Linked DNA regions of Homo sapiens: regions 2, 3, 4, 5, 6 and 7 are each linked to region 1. Evidence: promoter capture Hi-C in 16 types of primary human blood cells and fetal thymus (Javierre and others, 2016). All regions are on one chromosome and are shown on one strand. The core of a region is centred on a gene start or on the middle of the fragment in contact, and the rest is flanking DNA. Distances in the headings are between cores, read along the strand shown.

Evidence for each region. Contacts are between HindIII fragments. The CHiCAGO score rates a contact against its expected background, and 5 or more counts as called.
Region 2: a contact is called between a fragment that was not itself captured here and the fragment with the promoter of NVL in region 1, in 1 of 17 cell types (total B cells). The highest score is 5.1, in total B cells.
Region 3: a fragment that was not itself captured here is called in contact with the fragment with the promoter of NVL in region 1 in 14 of 17 cell types (total B cells, naive CD8 T cells, erythroblasts and 11 more); the score reaches 11.6 in total B cells.
Region 4: a fragment that was not itself captured here is called in contact with the fragment with the promoter of NVL in region 1 in 3 of 17 cell types (erythroblasts, M0 macrophages and monocytes); the score reaches 6.5 in erythroblasts.
Region 5: a fragment that was not itself captured here is called in contact with the fragment with the promoter of NVL in region 1 in 1 of 17 cell types (M2 macrophages); the score reaches 5.4 in M2 macrophages.
Region 6: a fragment that was not itself captured here is called in contact with the fragment with the promoter of NVL in region 1 in 7 of 17 cell types (monocytes, total B cells, naive CD8 T cells and 4 more); the score reaches 9.1 in monocytes.
Region 7: a fragment that was not itself captured here is called in contact with the fragment with the promoter of NVL in region 1 in 1 of 17 cell types (M2 macrophages); the score reaches 5.7 in M2 macrophages.

Annotation. Positions count from the first base shown.
Region 1 is chr1:224,328,713-224,331,747 of GRCh38, reverse strand. It overlaps NVL (nuclear VCP like), which reads left to right and starts at 1,576. Exons shown (of 23, transcript NM_002533.4): 1 at 1,576-1,677. The coding sequence starts at 1,621. RefSeq lists enhancers at 1,359-1,508, 1,529-1,578, 1,769-1,818, 1,869-2,008. The HindIII fragment of the contact is 14,633 bases long and covers 1-3,035 here.
Region 2 is chr1:223,686,053-223,689,087 of GRCh38, reverse strand. The region is part of intron 2 of LOC105373281 (a long non-coding RNA gene); the gene reads left to right. Among named protein-coding and RNA genes, the nearest start is that of CAPN8, 22 kb to the right of the region's middle. The HindIII fragment of the contact is 2,221 bases long and covers 375-2,595 here.
Region 3 is chr1:223,706,424-223,709,458 of GRCh38, reverse strand. It overlaps LOC105373281 (a long non-coding RNA gene), which reads left to right and starts at 1,809. Exons shown (of 3, transcript XR_949164.2): 1 at 1,809-2,091. It also overlaps a transcript of CAPN2 not described here. RefSeq lists enhancers at 1,101-1,600, 1,601-2,800. The HindIII fragment of the contact is 175 bases long and covers 1,498-1,672 here.
Region 4 is chr1:223,722,830-223,725,864 of GRCh38, reverse strand. All of the region lies in intron 2 of CAPN2 (calpain 2), which reads right to left. Among named protein-coding and RNA genes, the nearest start is that of CAPN2, 12 kb to the right of the region's middle. The HindIII fragment of the contact is 6,664 bases long and covers 1-3,035 here.
Region 5 is chr1:224,913,657-224,916,691 of GRCh38, reverse strand. The region is part of intron 1 of LOC105373109 (a long non-coding RNA gene); the gene reads left to right. Among named protein-coding and RNA genes, the nearest start is that of DNAH14, 15 kb to the left of the region's middle. The HindIII fragment of the contact is 2,211 bases long and covers 417-2,627 here.
Region 6 is chr1:223,745,818-223,748,852 of GRCh38, reverse strand. It overlaps CAPN2 (calpain 2), which reads right to left. Exons shown (of 21, transcript NM_001748.5): 5 at 1,688-1,856. Among named protein-coding and RNA genes, the nearest start is that of CAPN2, 35 kb to the right of the region's middle. RefSeq lists a silencer at 452-746. The HindIII fragment of the contact is 6,197 bases long and covers 1-3,035 here.
Region 7 is chr1:223,778,285-223,781,319 of GRCh38, reverse strand. TP53BP2 (tumor protein p53 binding protein 2) reads left to right here. Exons shown (of 18, transcript NM_001031685.3): 18 at 426-1,427. The coding sequence ends at 467. Among named protein-coding and RNA genes, the nearest start is that of TP53BP2, 66 kb to the left of the region's middle. The HindIII fragment of the contact is 5,248 bases long and covers 1-3,035 here.

The sequences.
Region 1 (3,035 bases), core at 327-2,826:
TGAGGTGGTAGAATCTCTTGAACCCAGGAGGCGAAGGTTGCAGTGAGCTGAGATTGCGCCACTGCACTCCAGCCTGGGCAACAGAGCAAGACTCTGTATCAAAAAAAAAAAAAAAAAAAAAAGAAAAGAAAGAAGGAAATTCTAACACATGCTATATGAGGGCATTAAGCTAAGAAACAAGCCAGTCACAAAAGTCAAATACTGGAAGATTCCACTTATATGAGGAAGTTAGTGTAGTCAAAATCATAAAGACAGTAAGTAGAATGGTAGTTGCCAGGGGCTGGGGGGAGGGAGGAATGGGGAGTTATTTTTTAATTAGTATAGAGTTTTAGTTGTACAAGATGAAAAGAGTTCTGGAACTAGATGGCAGTGATGGTTGCATATTATGAATGTATTATCACTAAACTGCACACTTTAAAATGTTTAAGATGGTGAATGTTCTTATATTTTACAACTAAAAAAATAAAAAATAAAACTACACATAGTGAAGAAGTAGGAAATGAAGTTGCAACCAAACGGATCAATATTTTGAGTGGGAAATCTAATACTTAATTCAGTGCTAATTTTTATATTTTTAGTAGAGACAAGGTTTCACCATGTTGGCCAGGCTGGTCGTGAACTCCTGACCTCAAGTGATCTGCCCGCCTCGGCCTCCCAAAGTGCTGGGATTACAGGTGTGAGCCACCGTGCCCGGCCTCACGCCCTTCTCTTAATTCCATTTTCTCTCCCCTCTGCCCCTTAATACACTGCACTTAACCTTGTCATAAGCCAAGGAGGACCTGAAATAAGAATACTCAAAACACGGTTGAAATAAACAAGAAGACAGAAACTAAAGCCAGCATTTTTTTTTTAATGCTTGGTAACTGTCCCTTTGTGTCTCCCTAAGTGCAGGATAAACTTCTTGGGGCAAATACAAACGTTTGATAAAATTCTGGGCCAAGGAGTCCTGCACTGGATATATTCAACAAATTACCTGCCGATGATAACAGCGTAAGTCAAACGAGTTCTAAAAGTAACAAATGACTTAGTTATCTGGATAAATCCGTCCTTCCTTTTCTTTTTCACCTAGCCCTTTTGTCGGGCCTCTAAAATGTAAGATAACTACGTGGGAAAGCAAGCAGCGGCTGGTGGTGTGTTTTTACCCTGATTTTATCACTCCAAGTATCTACCGTGGCTGGTTTTGCGAAGACTAGCTTTGTATCAGAATGAGGTGTGGCTGGAACGCCTGAGGAAAGCAAACCAAGTTTTCCAGAGGACGCCGTTGACAGCGTCTCCGCACACCGCGCCGGGGTAGGAACTTCCTCCCACCTGGTTCGCCCGGCGGGGAACCAATAAAGTTGAGCGCGTTCAAAGGGGTCCTAATCTTCCAGGGTCCACTGGGCAGGCCTGCAAAATAAGGCCCCTAGAAACTCCCTGAGGTTTTCAAGTCTTCTCCCTCTCCTCGGAATTTTTTCCCCTTCATTCGCATTACTTTTATTCTGACGGAAACGGCGCGGGCTAGGCCCCAGGAGGGGCGCATTTCAGGTGCAACTGGCCCGGCGATCGCGGCGGGCAACCCCTACGAGGCCCCCGGTTGACTAGGAGCTGGCGGTCCGAGCTGTGGCTTGGAAGACCGACGCGATGAAGCCCAGACCTGCAGGGTTCGTGGATAATAAACTCAAGCAGCGAGTCATCCAGGTGTGTATTCTGCACCGCTTGGCCTCGCCAAGGGCCCCGATCGCTGCCCCAGGGTGCCACTCCCCTTTTGTCGGGTGGCATCCAGGTGGAACTCAACTAGTCTTCTTTCCCCAGTCTGGGTCTGGGCGTGCGTCTGTTTCTCCTTAGTTGGTGCTGCCGGGGCCTTCCCTACCCACGTTGGTGCGGAGTCTCAGGGAGAAGCCGGGGATGGTGGGAGGGTGCAGCTTGGTAGGGCTGCCCAAGTTGTCTGGTCGTCTTCAGCGCAGATCATTCAGTAGAGTGGAGGTAGCCTTTGAATTTTAACCTCTTTGGCTTGTGAAGTTAGCACAGGAATGGTCTTCAAACGCTCGCATTGTAAGAGGTCCTTGAGAAGGGGTGGCATAAATAATATGTTAATTTCCGTTCTCAAGGAACTTACACACTAAAACGAGATAACATGGGTCTGGCAACAGTAACAGGCACTTTGCCTACGGTTTTCTCATTTTCATGACCATCAGTAAAAAGCAGTGTGTGGCAAATACCTCAGAATGTAAGCAAGCAGTCTGAGTTAAAAGGTGGGAGAGAATTTTCTTCACTTAGGAATTTGTGAGCTACACATTCTCCTTGTTTTTCTTTCACTTCACCAGCCCCTAAACAATCTCCTTTTCGGACCCATCTTTTCCTACCAACTTGTAAATGTTGGAAGTGCTCTGTGCCACTGTTCTCTTACCTCCCCTTCCTCCTCTTTCCTCATACACCTTTCTTATCTATCCATACTTCCTATGTGATCTCATTTAGTGTAATAACCTTTGAGTAGTATCTACATACTCTATTATCTATGTATTTATTTCATTTTATTTTTATTTTTCTGAGACATAGTCTCGCTCTGTTGCCCAGGCTAGAGTGCAGTGGCTGTTTATGGGCACAATCATAACTCACTGCACCCTCGGCCTCCCTGACTCAAGTGATCCTCCCTCCTCAGCCTCCCCAGTAGCTGGGACTACAGGTGTGCACCACCACACCTGGCTAATTTATTATTATTATTATTATTTGTAGAGACGGGGTTCCACTATGTTACTCTGGCTGGTCTCTAACTCCTGGGCTCAAGCGATCGGGCCTCAGCCTCCCAAAGTGCTGGGATTACCGGTGCAAGCTGCTGCACTGGCCTCTGTATATTTATGACTGCTAACTTTATATCTCCAGTCCAGATTTTATCTTGAAGTACAGATTGATATATCCAGCTGCCTAGTCAGCATATCTCCAAATTAAAATGGCCAAGTGGAATTTGTGATTTTTTTCTTCCTTCAAATCTGCCCTTTCTTAGTGTTCTGTATCTCAGTAAATGATACTACCGTTCGTCCTGTTGTTAAGGCCAAAAA
Region 2 (3,035 bases), core at 236-2,735, 640 kb after region 1:
AAGTACCTGCTTCTGACTTCTGTCACAGGCTACACTTCCCAGCCTGTAGGAATGGCCACCTTGCAGATTGCAACACTTCATGAGAAATAAACCTCTTATTTCAAAATTTATGAACCTCACCACTCGTTAGTTGACAAGAGTATTAACCTAAGCATGGGGCCCCTCTTGGAGCAGGGCCCTTATGACTGCATAGGTTGCTGCCCATGAAGCTAGCTAGCCCTGCTGACCTTGTTGCTGGTTTTCCAGGAGTAGATGCCGAGACTGTGCTTGGTGTACAGAGTATTTATTAGGAATCAACATCCGTGGATGAGAGGAGGAGGAAGCAGTCTTGGGCAGAGGGAAAAGTCAAAATGTGATGCAATTGTGACAAAGCTTTGGCCATTCCTATGGGATGTTCTGGACCATACACGGCCCATCAGAGATGCTAGATTAAGCCAAAATGTCTGTGTCTTTATACCTTACTTCTATCAGTCATTGGATGTGAACTGCCCCAACTTTGGGAGGTGGGATTAGCAGAAAGTTTCCAGGTCTCAAATCCTTTAGAGTTTGTTTCAGTTGCAGAGAGCTAACTCAACCAAGGGCATGACCCTCCCAGGCTGAGCAACATCCTGCTTTCTCTTCTGAAGAAAACAGTAGCAAACCAAATCCAGCTCTCTATATATGATAATATATCACAGCCAATAGCTGAGGTCAAGAATAGTAGATTGACCTCGTGTGGTGACTCACGCCTGTAATTCCAGCACTTTGAGGTGAAGGTGGGAGGATCGCTTGAGGCCAGGAGTTTGAGACCAGCTGGGCAACATAGTGAGACTCTGTCTATACAAAAAATTAAAAAAAAATTAACCTGGTATGGTAATGTGTGCCTGTAATCCCAGCTACTTGGGAGGCTGAGGTGGGAGGATCACTTGAGCCTGGGACGTTCAGGCTGCAGTGAGACATCATCGTGCCACTGCACTCCAGCCTGGGTGACAGAGCAAGACCCTGTCTCAAAAAGAAAAAAAAAAAAAAAAGGAAATTGCTTAAACATTAGGGAATCAGAGAATCAGTCACTGATGGATTGATATATATTAACAGAATGATGCATAAAGATACAGATATAGAAAGGTTGAAAATAAAATGATGGAAAAAGATATACTATGTGAACAGTATGAGAAGGAAGCTGGCATAACTATATTAAAATCAGACATAATACTTTAAGGCAAAAATCATTATTAGAGTTAGAATGAGGTTGTTTGTGATGATAGAGGCTCAAATCAAGAGGAATGTTAAAAAGGAAGAGGGATAACTCAAGGGAAGGTCAGCGAAGATTGTGGAGGAAATTGTGTGTTTCCAGGAAGCTCCAGGCTCCTCACATTTTCCCCACCAGCCAGCAGATAGATATTCCATAGTTTAATTTCTTTAGCTTAGTGCTTTATTGTATAGTTAAAATTAAAAAAAAGAAAGCAAGAAAGGAAGGAGCCATCAAGTTATGAAAGGACATTGAAGAAACTTAAATACATATTACTAAGTGAAATAAGTTGTATTAGTCCATTTTCATGCTGCTGAAAAAGACATGTCTGAGAGTGGGTAATTTATAAAGAAAAAGAGGTTTAATTGACTCACAGTTTCACATGGCTGGGGAGGCCTCACAATCATTGCAGAAGGTGAAGGCACATCTTATATGGCAGCAGACAAGAGAGACCTTGTGCGGGGAAACTCCCATTTTTAAAACCATTAGATCTTGTGAGACTGATTCACTATCATGAGAACAGCACTGCAAAGACCCGCAAAAGTCATTATTAGAGATAGAATGGGGTTGTTTGTGATGATAGATGCTCAAATCATTTTTCCCCATGATTCAATTACCTCCCACCGGGTCCCTCCCACAACATGTGGGAATTGTGGGAGCTACAATTCAAGATGAGATTTGGGTGGGGACACAGCCAAACCATATCACTAGTCCGTCTGAAAAGGCTACATAACATATAATTCCAAATATATGACATTCTGGAAAAGGCAGAGCAATGGAGACAGTAAAAAAAAAAGATTTCTGGGTGTTTGGTGAGGGGTAGATGAACAGGCAAAGCACAGAGGATTTTTAGGGCAGTGAAAATACTCTGTCTGATACTATAATGGTGGATACATATTATCATATATTTGTCAAAACCCATAAAATATACCATACTAAGAGGGAACCCTAAAGTAAACTACAGTGATAATGACATGTCAACATAGGTTCATCGATTTTAACAAATGTACCTCACTAGTGTGAGACATTAATAATTGGGAAGCTGTGTGTGTGTGAACATCTTACTTTCTTCTCAATTTTTTGTAAAGCTAAAACTGCTCTGAAAAATAAAACTATTAATTAAAAAAATTAATAGGAGTCTGTGTACAGAGATTCTTTTTGTACAAGGAAAAAAACCAACTCAAATTAAGCCAAAAACAAAAGTAAATGCATGATAGGTCTTGGTCCTGCTGCTTGATGACTTAAATCTAAGGTTATGGCAAAACATCTGAAGCTCATTGCCAGGCTGTGATGGTGCAGGACCCTAAACAGAATGCTCACAATGGAGGGGCTCATGACATTAAGCCACAGAGGCACTATGAGAAGCTTGCCACAGGTGACAGCGACAGAGCTGTGAAACTTGCCTGTGGATCTATAATTTGGAAGTGGCCCACAAGATGAACTCCATGGGAAAGAGTTGGGCAGATAGATACATGGCAGGGCTGCTGAGTCCTGTGTGCAGGACACCCAACACGAAAACCTCATCCATTTTGTGCTGTCGCCTCTTTTCTTCCTCCAAAAACCCATATGATGTATATTTCTCTTACCTTTTTTCCCTGCAGTAAACCTAATCCTATAGATGCAAGAAGGCCTGCATATACAGAAGCAATCCCTGCAGTCAGCAATGGAGCCTCTCTTCTCTTAAGTGACAGAGAAACTGAGTCACAAAGTAGTCTAGGAGTAGAATGATGGTTGCTAGAGGATACAAGGAGTGGGAAATGTGGAGTTGGTGCTCAATGGAGATAAAGCTGCAGTCTTGGAAGATGAA
Region 3 (3,035 bases), core at 336-2,835, 620 kb after region 1:
GAACTCCTGACCTCAGGTGATCTGCCCACCTCTGCCTCCCAAAGTGCTGGGATTACAGGTGTGAGCCACTGCACCCTGCCGAAATGGAATCTTTAAAATGTGTTTATTTTATACTAATATGAGAGCCATGATGTTACCTTTTCTTAAAGCAAGTATTTTTGTCACTATTATTCCTCTGCCCCCATCTATTCTTGTCTCTGACACCCATTGCTTACCCCCTTTGCTTGACAAAACTTTGGTCAGACTTCTCTCTTTCCTACAGATCCCTGAATGCTGCTTGCCCCCAAGCCTGAACAAGCACAAACAAAGTGGAGTGTCCCTGCCAAGTCACTTCCCTGCCCAGCTTCTCCTGGGAATTGACTGAACACAGCAAGACCCTTTTCCTGTCAGCTCCCACTGGTCATTTCCCCTCACTTGTCCAGCTTCCCCTCCCAAGAGTCTGCTTATCTCCACTTGCTCCTCCTTTACCCTAGAAAAGAAGAATCTTTTTCTGTTTGATTTTGAGCTGCTTGCAGATTCTCTGAATTGGAATTGTCTTTCTCTCTTTTTTTTTCTTTTCTCTTCTCTTTTCTTTCTTTTCCTTCCTTCCTTCTCTTTTTCTCTATTTTTTCTTTCTTTCTCCCTCCCTTCTTCCCTTCCTCTCCTTCTCTCCTTCTCTCTTTCTCTCTCTCTCTCTCTTTCGCTCTTTCTTTCTTGTTTCACTCTTGTTGCCCAGGCTGGAGTGCAGTGGTGCAATCTCCACTCACTGCAACCTTCGCCTCCCGGGTGCAAGTGATTCTCCTGCCTCAGCCTCCTGAGTAGCTGGGATTACAGGTACCAGCCGCCATGTGCAGCTAATTTTTTTGTATTTTTAGTAGAGACGGGGTTTCCTCATGTTGGCCAGGCTGGTCTTGAACTCCTGACCTCAGGTGATCCACCTGCTTTGGCCTCCCAAAGTGCTAGGATTACAGGTGTGAGCCACTGCGCCTGGCCTGCAATAGTCTTTCTTTCTATTGAAGTGTCCCTTTATAAAAGTCTGGATTTTTTTTTTTTTTTAAACAGAGTTTCACTCTTGTTGCCCGGGCTGGAGTGCAATGGCGCGATCTTGGCTCATTGCAACCTCCGCCTCCCGGTTCAAGTGATTCTCCTGCCTCAGTCTCCCATGGTTTTGTTTTTATTTGACATCCTCCATCTCTGGTTTGCAAGTCTGGGCATGCTGCCTGATGGGCAGGTACCACCGTCCACCACCAGGCTTTGCTTTCTTTACTCTTGAATAAGGCGGGGACACAGGTTCCATTGTGTAATGGTTGGCACTCTGGACTCTGAGTCCAGAGATGGGGATACAGGCATTCATTTCTAGCTCATGGGTTTCTGGTGCAAGGGTTTCATGAAGCCATCACAATTGAAAACAGAGGAAAGCGACAGCCCTGTCCTGGAAGCTGTTCATTTGTTCCACTGTCTGATTTCCATTGGCCCCACCCCGACTTCTTCTGGGCTCGAGGCTCTTGGGAGAAAGCTTGTCCTTCTGCCCAGTGGGGCAGAGCGCAGGCTTCTCCTCCCACTGATCTCCTCAAGGACAGCTCATCTCTGGAGGAAGTGACTCCTCCCAGGCAGGTGGAGGTCATTTCCCTCCTAAGTCATTTTAGCAACAAATGGGCAGATCAGACCTATCATTCCAGTCAACTCAGAAGCTTTGCACAGCCTGGGAGCAGAAGAGCCTCCTGGCTCACCTGAAGTTCCTCTTCCCCAGCTAGGCAACACCCTCTTTGGTGCAGCCCTGGCCACTCCCCTTGCCAGCCTTCTAGGGATCGCTGCGCACATAGAGCTCTGCTTACAAAGGGCTTTAGGCTGTCCTATGCCACCCAAATTTAATTGCAAACACATACAATGACTACTTTCCCCAACCATTTGGACAAAGTCTAGTTTTTAAACCTGAGTTAATGTTGCTTTTTCTACTTCCCAAAGCCTCTCACACTATGCTATCTCACTGACCCAGCAAAGTCTTCTCTTTCTCTGACCACACAATCCTTTTCACGGGAACACAAGGACATAGACAAACACTTCATGGTGGAAAACCTTCCTGGAGTGAGTCAGCCAGCCCTGAGGATGGTGGTGAGTCAGAAACAGCTGGGATTATCCAGAACTGCCTGGGTCTGGGCCACTGACCTTGTGAGTAAATGAGAGAGGGAGTGAGAGAGAGAGATAGAAAGAGAGAGAGAGAGAAGAAGAGAGAGAGAGAGAGAAAATAAGAGAATAAGAATGTGTGTGTCTCAGAGGGCCATGGCAATGGAATCTTTTTCAGTAGTATTTTTCTTTAGATTATTTTCTCCCTGGCCCTGGATGTTTGAGATGCATCAGAGGCACAATCTGCAGGTTCTGGATTTTTTTTTTTTTTTTTTTGAGGTGGAGTCTCACTCTGTCACCCAGGCTGGAGTGCAGTGGCGTGATCTCGGCTCACTGCAACCTCCGCCTCCCGGGTTCAAGCAATTCTCCTGCCTCAGCCTCTTGAGTAGCTGGGATTACAGGGGCTCACTGCCATGCCCAGCTAATTTTTGTATTTTTAATAGAGACGGGGTTTCGCCATGTTGTCCAGGCTGGTCTTGAACTCCTGACCTCAGGTGATCCACCCATCTCGGCCTCCCAAAGCGCTGAGATTACAGATGTGAGCCACCGTGCCTAGCCAGGTTCTGGAGATACTAACCAAAGCTTCCTTTTTAATTTTGCACCTCCACGTGTCAGTCTCAGTTTTTATTTGACATATTTGTGCACTTTACACATATTTGTGCACTTAATCTTCACAGCCAGTCAAGGGAGATCTTATCTCCTCATTTAATGGATGAGTAAACAGAGGCCCAGCAGAGCAGCTGACATGTTGTGTTGTAGAGCCAGCCTGGCTGCCAACACCTAGACCATGGTCCCTTGGGGTCTGTCCATACCCAGTGTAGGAGGGCAGAGGGAACGGCAGGCCCAGGCAGAGGAAAAGAACCTGTTTTCTTCCCCTCCCTCTTTCAGGTCCGTGATTTGAATCCAAAGGAGATCACAGAGAATATGAATTC
Region 4 (3,035 bases), core at 178-2,677, 610 kb after region 1:
GGAAACTTATGGCTAGAGATCACAAGGTACTGGAAGCACGTGTATGTGCTGGGATAGGAGAGAGTCCACGTTCCTTGGCACTGAAGGGCCTCTGGCCCTTTGTGGGAAACATCAGGAGGCCATGACCATTGTGTGACCAAAGAAAATTACAGCAGGAAACTCCTCTGAGTTTCCGGACCTTCCCCCTGGGACACCACCTCCTCTGTCATACCCCTCTCCAAAACTTAGGTGGCCGCCAATGTCAAGTGCTAAAGCTGGGACCCAGTCGGGTATTCAAGATGTGCCACAATGTGTCTCCACCTCAGCGACGCGACCTCATTTGACAGTACTCCCCTCCAGCTGTACTGTCCCCAAAGAGAACGTGCAATCTGCATGGATTAAACCTTTACTATGTACCAGCCTCTGGAGCTCTGAGCTTTATATGTCTATTATTTCATTTCATCTTTACAGTCCTCTGAGGTAGACACAATTTTTTTTTTTTTGAGATGAAGTCTCGCTCTATTGCCCAGGATGGAGTGCAGTGGTGCGATCATGGCTCACTGCAACCTCCACCTCTCAGGTTCAAGCGATTCTCCTGCCTCAGCCTCCTGAGTAGCTGGGACTACAAGTGCATGCCACCACGCCCGGCTAATTGTTTGTATTTCATATTGTAGTTTTGTAGAGATGGGTTTTCACCGTGTTAGCCAGGATGGTCTTGATAGTAGGCACTATTATTATCTTCATTTCACGGATGAGGAAACTGAGGTGTGAAGAGGATAGTGATCCACTCAAAATGACAGAGCCAGTATGTGGCAGAATAAGAGGCCAGTCCCTAACTGCCAGACACCAAGTCCTCATTCGCTACCCTGATATTTACAGATGTTTATTGATGTAGGTTTAGCTGTTTGTTTTGAGACAAGGTCTCACTCCATCACCCAGGCTAGAATGTCATGGTGCAATCACGACTCACTGCAGCCTTGACCTCCTGGGCTCAAAGTGATCCTCCCACCTCAGCCTCCCAAGTAGCTGGAACTACAGGTGCACACCACCATGCCCAGCTAATTAAAAAAATTTTTTTTTGTGGAAATGGGTTCTCATTATGTTGCTTGGCTGGTCTTGAACTCCTGGGCTGAAGGGACCCTCCCACCTCAGCCTCCCAAAGTGTTGGGATTACAGGCATGGGCCACCATGCCCTGCCTGTTTATTGACGTCTGTGCATTGTTTGGCTCTGATGTGAATACTATCCCGCTTTGGAGAGTAAAGGCTGAGAGGCTGGATTCCAGAGCGCAACAGTCTGCTGCTGTGCAGTGCAGCAGCCACAAGGAACATGTGGCTATTTACATTTAAATTAAATAAAATTACAAATTCAGTTTCTCAGTTGCATGAGTCATATTTCAAGTGCTCCACAGCCACACAGGGCTAGTGCTGCTGTTTGGAGCAGTGCAGATATACACGGTTTCCATCATCACTAGAAGCTCTATGGGACAGGGGTGGTCTAGAAGTGGCCTCACTGCACACCTGCTGGCCAGGCCACCTCCTCCTGGGGCTCAATCATCCAGACAGTGTTGCTAGCCAGGACCCCAACAGACCTCATGGAACCCACGGTCCTTCATTTCTCAAATCCCCAGATGAGTGTCCCTTGGCTGGTCTTCTTGGGGACTGGTGCTGAACAAGGTGGAGATATAATTCCTCACAAACACCAGTCCAGCTAAAGCCAGATGTGTGAGGGTGCAGGGGGCTGTCGAGGAAGGTAACATTCTAAAGTCACAGAATGTCAGAAGTAGTGGGGCATCAGGAAAATCTGTTCCAACCTTCTAATCTCAGAGACAAGATAAGACAACTATGGCCGTATAGGGGCGTGGTCTGGCTCCTGGCCACAGGAAGCTGGTGGAAAATCTAAAGAGGCACCCAAACAGGCAAAGAGTCACCCCTGGATCCAGAGGCCCATGGGGAGCAGGCTGGAGCCCTGGAATCCCACTTTGCACGCCCTGTGGCTTTGCAGGAAAGTATATGGGAAATGGGGGATTCTTGAAGGGGGTCCCACTGCTCCTATTCCTGGAGAGGGGGCAGGGAGAGCTAAGGAGAGATTTGTTCTTCAGGCATCTGATGTAGCTGGAGACCGTGGGTACCATGGCCAAAGCTGAGGCAGCCAGGGTGGGACAGGGGCCTCCAAGCAACACAGCAGTGTTAGCAGTTCACCTGGACCTGTTGATGAGCTGTCTTAGATGCACGAAGGCAAGAGATGTCTCATCTCGTCTCTAAGATCTTAGATCTTAAGTGCAGAGGGAAGGCAGCTGGGAGTGTGGACGGCAGCCACAAGGGAGAAAAGTGCAAGAGCATTTACAACCAGAAGAGAAGCCGAGGGGACATGATGGCCCATGGACAATGTAGCCATGGACAGTGCCCTGGGAGGCTGGTAAGGGGGGTGCTGGGACTGGTGGTGAAGAGATCATTTTTAAGAAAAAGAATGGATTTACTTTCTCCATCAAACCAGCCAACATCTATTTGCTAGTCTTTAAACATTTTAACTACATGGGTACTTATTTATTTACTTTTTGAGATAAGTTTTCCCTCTGTTGCCCAGGCTGGAGTGCAGTGGCTCCAGAACCAGGCTGGAGTGCACGGCTCACAGCAGCTTCTACCTCCTGGGCTCAAGTGATCCTCCTGCTTCAGCCTCCCGAGTAGCTGGGACGACAGGCATGTGCCACCAAGCCCAGGTAATTTTTTTGTAGAGACAGAGTTTTGCTATGTTGCCCAAGCTGGTCCCAAACTCGGGTTCAAGCGATCCTCTTGCCCCAGCCTCCCAAAGTGCTGGGATTACAGGTGTGAGCCACTGCATACTTATTAAAAAGGCACCACAAATTCCAATAGACAGGCATCTTACAAAATCTCTGATCAATATTCCCCAAAACTGTCAAGGTCATCAAAATTAAGGAAAGACTTGAGAGACTGTCACAGCCCAGAGGAGCCGAAGGAGACTTGGCAACTAAATGAAACGTGGGGTCCTGGATGGGATCCCGGAATAGAGAAAGAACCTTAGGGGAAAACTAAGAGAA
Region 5 (3,035 bases), core at 273-2,772, 580 kb before region 1:
TTAGAGCAGTAATATTTTTGATGCAGATCAATTTTTAGTATATAAAATAATTACTCTAGAAGGGCAAGAGTTTCTAAGGATAAGATGACTTTTAAGTGTTGACCAAAAGAAAAAACCTGAGGCAATGTTGATACAGAGAGTTTATTTGGGGCAAGGTTGAGGACAGCTCATAAATCAGTTGAATTCCTATCTTCCAAAGGTCCCAAAATAGCCTGTCTTCCAAAGATCCCCAAATATCTTGAGGTTTCTGTGCCTATCAGAAAGTGGCATTACTTACCCCAAGGTCAGGATCCTGCAAAGGAAAAATATAGACAAGGTACCAGGCCATTTTTTCCAAGTCTTGGTTTTATAAAGTCAACATTAATCCCTCAAAGCAGTCTGCTCAAACTTGAAAATATGACATTCCATTCAAAGCTTTAGTAAAATAACCAGTGTTTCCAATGTGTCCTGTTACAAAAGGAAAAGAGATTCTTATTGAACTTATACAAATAGCCACATTGCAATAAAATGAGAATACAATTTTCAAATTCTAGAGAAATCAGGTAGAGAGAAAGGTAAATGTTTCAATTTTTCTCACAAAAGTATACTTTACTCAATTGCTGTAAACTATAAATAGCTTAAAAAATGTATTGACTCTAGAAAGCAAAATATAAAAACAATCAGCAGTATTTCAAACAAAATGAAGTCATAACAAATTATTTCAGTCTTCTGTCATTCAGTCCTATGTAATTAACTTTTGCTGTGTTTGAAATTGGGTTAGCAATGTTTATAAACCCATCAGTTTTTTATTAGAGTTCTGAATGTTTTTACCTCATCCAATGGTATAATCTCCAAAGTTATCAGAAACCTGTATTCAAGAGTACTTGTCATAGTCCTTTCCATTAATTTCCTTGAAGACACAATGCTTTAGCATTTGCAAAAAGGTTTGAGGATAAAAAGTGATTTACTGCATATATCAAGACATATCAGATTTTTATAAAACCTCATACAATTTTGGAGAGCATACATTAATAACATCCACACAAAGATAATTCAAAGAAAGTCAAACACCATTTCTTATTGGATAATACTTCCCATATGATTTTAACATCCCTTTAACATCCCAATAAGCCTAATATGTCCCTCTTGGATTTTCAAGAGCCCTCCATTTTTTTGAATGTCCAAGAGTTACTTTGAGGTCAAAAAGACTCAATTTTAGAATTTGAATTTTGTTTTTGGGAGGTATGTCAAATATCAAAGGTTGAAGACACTTGATATTAAAATAAATCACAGGTCACTCTAAAATAATAGTCATCTATTTAGCTAAAGTGATAATTCAAAGATTTCAGAAAGCAAAAACTTTTACTCAATAGAGCAGCAACTCAGTTTTCCAATCAAAAGACCTAATAAAGGCAGCATCAGATTATCTCTCCCATTCTCCTCTCCTTTTAAAAATTTTGCAATTTACTGAAAAGGTGAACAAAAATATTTTACTATATCTTATTAATACTATATGAAAATATTGTTCAGAAGAAAAAAACAAATGTAACCCTTGTATCAATGTATTATTATTAAATCTAATTTTAATAAAACCTTATATACAGATCCATCGAATCTTGATCAGCTTTGATCACACAGCATAAGATTTTCATAAGCCTTTTATAACCTATTACAATTTTTCCCATTTTCTTTTTCCCCAGTTTTTTATATATGTTTAGTTTATCTTTTTTAATTTAAATAACTTTTACATCACCTTTAAGCCAGGCAAACTTACTTATCTGTTAAACATTTTAACATCTTTTTAGAAAACTTTCTTTACCAAAACACATCCTATTTTTCTTTTACACTTTATATACAGAATAGTTTCTCTTACATCTAGTAGTTTTAATCACATATATTAATTACAATGTTAACTCTTAGTAACCCTAATTCTTACTGAAAAACCTAGGAAGTAAGCAATTTTAATTGTTATGTACCAGGTGTAGAACCCAGGACAGAGAAGGCTGTGAAGACAAGTCCTGGAGGATCTGATTCCTCCCAGCATGGCTAGAAGGCACAGCCGAGTCAGGGAGGACATCCTGGGCTTGGCTCTGTACCAAAGCTGGGGTGGCCTAAGTCACCAGACCTCACTATGGGCACTTGTCTAGACCTTACAATCTGAAGGCTCAAAACTAAACACATAAGATCATAGATAAACCAAACAGCTATCAAAAATGTCACAGAAAACAACAGTTTTATGACCTGAAAACTTCTATCAGAGACAGTCTAAACCTTTCTGACCAGTAGTCCCAGGCAAAATGTCTGAATTGTATTTAATACTGACTGTTCTGAAGACATTCAAGTTTTATTTTATCAGCAATTTTAAAACTAGCTTTATTTATCAAAGATTACTAAAGTCATGTGAACTTGAAAAGTTTTTGCACATATTTACTTAATTTATGAGTACTCATTTATTTACAAGTCAATTTGGTACCAGGTAGGCAATATACAAACACAGACATGCATATATGTATAGTAAAAATACAAAATAAATATTTTATAGTATAGATTTTATAATTTCTGCCATAAGACAAGTAAAACTCACTCATTTAAAAGAACACTTGGATTAAATTGTACCTCTGTAAATGGAACAAGTTATGTCCAAAGCTTTTACTGAATTTTAGAGAAAATAGGATAGCAAATTTACATTTCATAGAGGGAGAATTCAAGATTTCCAAAAGGTCAAGGAAGTTTTACATTATCATTGGCAAAAATTATGTCATCAAAAGAGAAGCAGAACAAAGGAGTGCCTATAATTAAAGGTTTAAGAAGAAATGAATTCAGTTGACTGATAAGCTTCTATGGAGACAACAGAGGTCTACACACACACACACACACACACACACATATCTGCTAAATGCCAGCTTTTAATTAAGTCAACTTTTTTTTGAGTCAGGGTCTTATTCTGTCACCCAGGCTGGAGTGCAGTGTTGTGGTCATGGCTCAGCCCCAACTTCCCAGGCTCAAGCAATCCTCTTACCTCAGCCTCCCAAGCAGCTGGGACTACAGGCATGCAC
Region 6 (3,035 bases), core at 140-2,639, 580 kb after region 1:
CTTGAACGCCGAGAATACCAGAGAAAAGGCGGAATGCAACCCTCTCGCGGAACGAGCACAGGCATTCCCGTGTGAATAGCGCATCCACGGATTTCTGCAGGCTGGGAAGGGCGGGAAAGGGCGCACGGCCGAGAGAGGGCTGGAGGGGGTCCTCGATGGCGCAGGGAAAGGGCGCACGGCCGAGAGAGGGCCGGAGGGGGTCCTCGATGGCGCAGGGCTGATACCCAGACAGCCTTGAGTGGCCCAGGGACACTGAGCACACCCTCGCCCCACCACCAGCCCATGCTCCGTGGTCTGGCCCAGCCCAGCTGTAGGGTTTATACTAGGACGGTTGTTTATTCCGGTCTGAGTCAGAATTTGCTTCTGTTTTAAGAACGCCTCACAGCCTCTCCTTTCCCCTATCTATTCTGATGAAGGTTGAGCCTGGGAAGAAGGGCTGGAGCAGAAAGGGTCTTCTGCCTCAACGTGTTCTGCTGATAAACTTTGAGAATTCCTGCCTAGGGAGTCTGACCTAGATTTTGGCTCCAAAAGCCAGGGCTTCTTATCTCTGTCCCCCGCAGAGACCAGAACCTGGATGGGACAGGGCTCAGAGGTTGGGCACAGCCTTTGCTCCAAGGCTCCTGGGCACAGTGCCCACCTCCCATCCCCTGGTGAGCGTTGCCAGCAAGGCTATTATGAGGAAATCTTTCCTCCTCTTCCTTCCGAAGTCTCCCACGGGCCTATTAGCTCTGCAAGAGTGCAGGGGAAGGCTGCACAGCACTGCAGATGGAGGGGAAGGTGGCAGGGGCAGCAGGTGGCAGGGGCTCCCAGGGAACCTGTGGTCAGAGGGGTGGGGGTGATTCAGAGCAGGCTAAGAGTGGGAAGTGGACTGAAGACAGAAGGGCTGGAGGCACCATCACCCCATCCATTACACCCCAGACAGCTTGACTTTTGCCTAGCAACCCTTGGCTTCCAGGTGATGAGCAATAATGGTAGACACTGGGGTGCTCAGAAACCAATACCTCTAAGAGATGGCACTTTGAAATGCTAAACTGAAGAAGCCTCAAGATCTCTCTGACCTCCCCTTTCCTTCTGTCTCTCGATCCACTCTCCCCCAAAGCACAGGAGGAAGCTATTCTCTGAAGTTCCCTCACCTGCCTAAAGTCTGGACCTGCCAAAGATGAAAACAATGACGTCTGGTCCTTTCCATGAGTTATTATGAACTGAACTCATATTGCAGGAAGAAAGACAAGTCTGTCAACATGGCTAGACAGACTTGTCACAAACCACTGTCTGCTCTGCAGGCCCAACAGACTTTATCCCAGACCATTTATGTTCTTTAAGCCCAATGAATTCCCCTAAAAATCATTTACGACATCCCTAAAATCATCCGCACCTCCCCATCTCCCTTCCCCTAAGAGGAAGGGAATATAACCCTCTGTATCCCAATGCGTGGTAGGGAAATCTCTTGTGATTCTCCCCTGTCCACATTCATACATTTGTATGCCATTTCTTGTATTAGTCTTCCTTTTGCCAGTTGATTTTCAGCGGACCTTCAGAGGGTGGAGGGAGGTTTTCCTTTGGCCCCTACGTGGACGAGGGCTGCATTACGTTGTACACAGGAGCAGTGGGTTCCCTTGGGCACTGTGGGAGCCTCCCTTCAGCAAGAGCAGATGGGGTGAGGCTAGGGAAGGCAGCCTGGACTTACGTCGATGGAGCAGCCAAGGAGAGAGCCTTTTTGCAGAGCTTTCTGGATGATCTTGAACAGGTTGGGAGGGGGCTTCTTCAACTCATACCACTCAGCAATGCCTCCGGTGAAGTCTTCGAAGCCCTCAGTGGTGGCACCCCCTGATAGCGCTTCATAGCATCCGTTGATCCTACAAGAGGGGATTAGACGCTGCCGCTACCCTTGACACTACTGATGCTATAATCTCTCAAACAGCCACCCCCTAGTACCGTCTAGATTTGATGCTCCAGGGACCCCCTGCTCACATTCTCCTTGGCCTTGTTCCCAGCTCGGGGTGCTCAGGAAGGCAAGGTATAATGTCCACAGTTACCATTTCCCTGGTATTTTGTGTTTTAAAGAAAATCTCAGGCCGGGCGCGGTAGCTCATGCCTGTAATCCCAGCACTCTGGGAGGCCGAGGTGGGCGGATCACTTGAGGTCAGGAGTTCAAGACCAGCCTGGCCAACATGGCAAAACACCATCTCTACTAAAAATACAAAAAAATTAGCTGGGCATGGTGGTGCATGCCTGTAGTCCCAGCTACTTGGGAGGCTGAGGCAAAAGAATTGCTGAAACTCAGAACGTGGAAATTGCAGTGAGCTGAGATCATGCCGCTCACTCCAGCCTGGGTGACAGAATGAGGCTCCGTATTAAAAAAAAAAAAAAAAAAAAAGATTCTCGTAGAACCTTAGAGTCGGAAGGACCTTAGTGATTTTCTGGATGAACCTCCTGTATTGATTCCTTCTACATCCTGACAAGAAAGGGGAGGTCTACTAATGGGTCGTTTGGCATTGATAGCTTAAAAAAGGACAACCATTCAATAATGGAAGCAGTTTCTCTGAGAAACAGGCACGGTGTTGGCAAGGGCTTAGTGCTCCTGACTGCTGATGCTGGAGTCCGGTGGCTTCCCTGACCCCAGTATTGAGCAGTGGGACTTAGAAGCATCCGTCAGGCTCCAGGTTCTCACAGCTGACTCCTCCTTCCTGGATTGGGACTGTAAGAAACAGAAATCCACTTGCTGCTCTAAAGTGGGGTCACTTTAATGGAAGGAGCCGGGCGGCACAGCCAACATGGGGCCATTGTGGAGAGGGGCTGGTGTGGGGCTTCTTACTGAGAGTGGGCAGCCCTGAGCACTGGACAAACTCAACTGTGGGCAACCTGGGTGGGAAGCAGCTGTGCGGAGATGGGGAAGCCATTGCTAATCAGTGACATCATCTATTCTGGGCAAGTTTCCTACCTCTGCAATGAATAGTTCTGCCCATTGGCAAAAATTCTGCTTTTTTAAGTTGATACAAATGTGTCCTGTCAAGGAAGTAGAGCTCCTTCTCAAG
Region 7 (3,035 bases), core at 195-2,694, 550 kb after region 1:
TTGTGAATAAAGGTAAAAGAATTCAGTCTCTTTCTTCCTTCCTAATAGAAGCTCCAAATGCTGGAGCATAGAGCATACAGCAGTTTGCCTTCCTTGTTAGAGCCGATTTACATAGAGCCGATTTACAGCTCAACAAGCTGTGCAGATTGAGTTAATACCTAGAACTGTCATGGGTTTTTATATTGCTGCTTTGTAGAGTTGTCACAGTTGACGGGCCCTTGTGATCTTTGAACGTCCTGCTGAGTCTAGCTATGACCACGTTGCTAAACGTAAAGCTCTAGGTGCCACACACACCACAAAGAGTGCTTTTCTCACTTTGATTTCCTTCCCATGACATCTGTCCCCTAACCTCATTATTTCTTGAAATTTTGTTATATTCCCACACATCTATTATAGTATGTAAAATTTTTTAAACTCTCTTGCAGCTGTACCCAAGAATTAAACCAAGACAAAGGAGCTTGGCCTGAAACTTCCACACAGAATTTTAGTCAATGAAGAATTAATCTCTGTTAAGAAGAAGTAATACGATTATTTTTGGCAAAAATTTCACAAGACTTATTTTAATGACAATGTAGCTTGAAAGCGATGAAGAATGTCTCTAGAAGAGAATGAAGGATTGAAGAATTCACCATTAGAGGACATTTAGCGTGATGAAATAAAGCATCTACGTCAGCAGGCCATACTGTGTTGGGGCAAAGGTGTCCCGTGTAGCACTCAGATAAGTATACAGCGACAATCCTGTTTTCTACAAGAATCCTGTCTAGTAAATAGGATCATTTATTGGGCAGTTGGGAAATCAGCTCTCTGTCCTGTTGAGTGTTTTCAGCAGCTGCTCCTAAACCAGTCCTCCTGCCAGAAAGGACCAGTGCCGTCACATCGCTGTCTCTGATTGTCCCCGGCACCAGCAGGCCCTTGGGGGGCTCACCTGAAGGCTCGAAGGCACTGCACACTTGTATATTGTCAGTGAAGAACTGTTAGTTGGTTGTCAGTGAACAATAACTTTATTATATGAGTTTTTGTAGCATCTTAAGAATTATACATATGTTTGAAATATTGAAACTAAGCTACGGTACCAGTAATTAGATGTAGAATCTTGTTTGTAGGCTGAATTTTAATCTGTATTTATTGTCTTTTGTATCTCAGAAATTAGAAACTTGCTACAGACTTACCCGTAATATTTGTCAAGATCATAGCTGACTTTAAAAACAGTTGTAATAAACTTTTTGATGCTAGCTGTTTACTGGTTTTTGTTTTTGATGTCATAAATAGACCTTGTTTAATAGTCACAAGCCGTTGGGATATCATACCCAGCTGAAAAAGAACAAACTGCTTAACATAAGTATATGTATCGTAATAAGAGTTTTTTACCAGCTAAGTGATTCAATGTAAGTGGTTTTTAAAATAAAATACTGTAGAGATCATGGTGATAGAAGCCTACTTTACATTTTACCTAGAGCCTCTAATAGACTGTTTTAGTGTCCTCATTGATTTATGGGGTGAAAACTTATATAGGCAAAATCTCCACATCATTTTATTAATATGTTAATAGGTTTGTGAATTGTTTCCAAACCCATTTGCTTAGTGGAACTACTTTAGTAGAAGATACAAATGAAAAACCATGGTCACTCTTCCTTACACATTTTTATGAGTAGCTAAATTCTAGCAAGGAAGGTAGATGAAAGAACATAATTTTGAGAATAACACTTTTGAGAGTAACGGAGAAGGAGTGACAACATAAACTAAACATCCGAAGACGTGTGGTAGGCAGAATTCTAAAGATGCCCTGCACCCCCATCCCTGTCTCCTGGTTATTCCTTGTATCACTAATGTAGGTACAATAAGTCCTTACTTAACATCATCATTAGGTTCTTGGAAACTGTGACTTTATTTTTCTTTTCTTTCCTTCCTTTTCTTTTTTTTTTGGGAGACAGGGTCTTGTCATGCTGCCCGGGCTGGTCTCTGATGCCTGGCCTCCAGTGGTCCTCCTACCTAGGCCTCCCAAAGCGTTGGGATTACAGGTGTGAGCCACTGCACCTGGCCAAAACTCAAAGTGAAAAGGTGTGTAACAAAACCATTTCTTTTTCTCATCAGTGTTCTAATGGTACAACATGAAGTGATGTTATTCGAGGACCTGCTGTTTCTGGTTGGTTGGTTTTACATCATTTTGCTCTAATTTGCAGTTACCAAGAACCTATCCGTGATGCTAGGTTTTGACGACTTACTGTACTGCTTTGAAGGACTTTTAAGATTTAAGTAAGTTTACGAATCAGTTGACCTTAAAATAGGGTGTTTAGCCTAGATTGTCCTGGTGGGCCACCGTAATCACAAGATCCCTTCACGGCAGGAGAGGAAGGCAGGAGGGCTGAGGCAGGAGGGTGGGCGGGGCAGGTGGGTGGGCAGTAAGACTTGGAGTGTGAAGACTTGACCTGCTGTCATTGGCTTTAAAGATGAAGAGGATCATGGAATGTGGGGGTCAGGGAACATGGAAGCTGAGAAAGACCCCCGGCTGGCCCATCCAGGAGATGGGGACTTCAGTCCTGATGGCCACATGGAACTGAACTCTGCTAACCTGAGTGGGCCTGGCTGGAAATGAATCCTCCCCAGGTCTCCAGAAGGAATGCATTAGTCCAATGAGACCAGCGTTGGACTTCTCATCTACAGAATTGTGAGATAATGGCTATTTTTTTAGGCCACTAAATTTGTCTTAATTTGTTACAACTACAGGAAACAACATGGATTCTAGTCCTGGGCTGTCGTACTTACCCATCAGGTGACCTTGCCAAGGACACCCGACCTCCCTGAGCCTTGTTCCCTCATCTGCGGAGTTTAATGCCATTGCCTTGGCATGCTTCCGAGTTGTTGAGGAAAACCTAAGTTCTGTGCATGAAGGTACTTGGCAAACTAAAGAATTACACAGATGTATGAACAGAGAAGATGTGAAAATTAGGGAACTGTGATCCCAGTTTTATATTCCTTAATTCTAAACTGAGAACATCATTGTTGTTAGTCTTTCTGTTCTTTAGTTTGTTTTATTA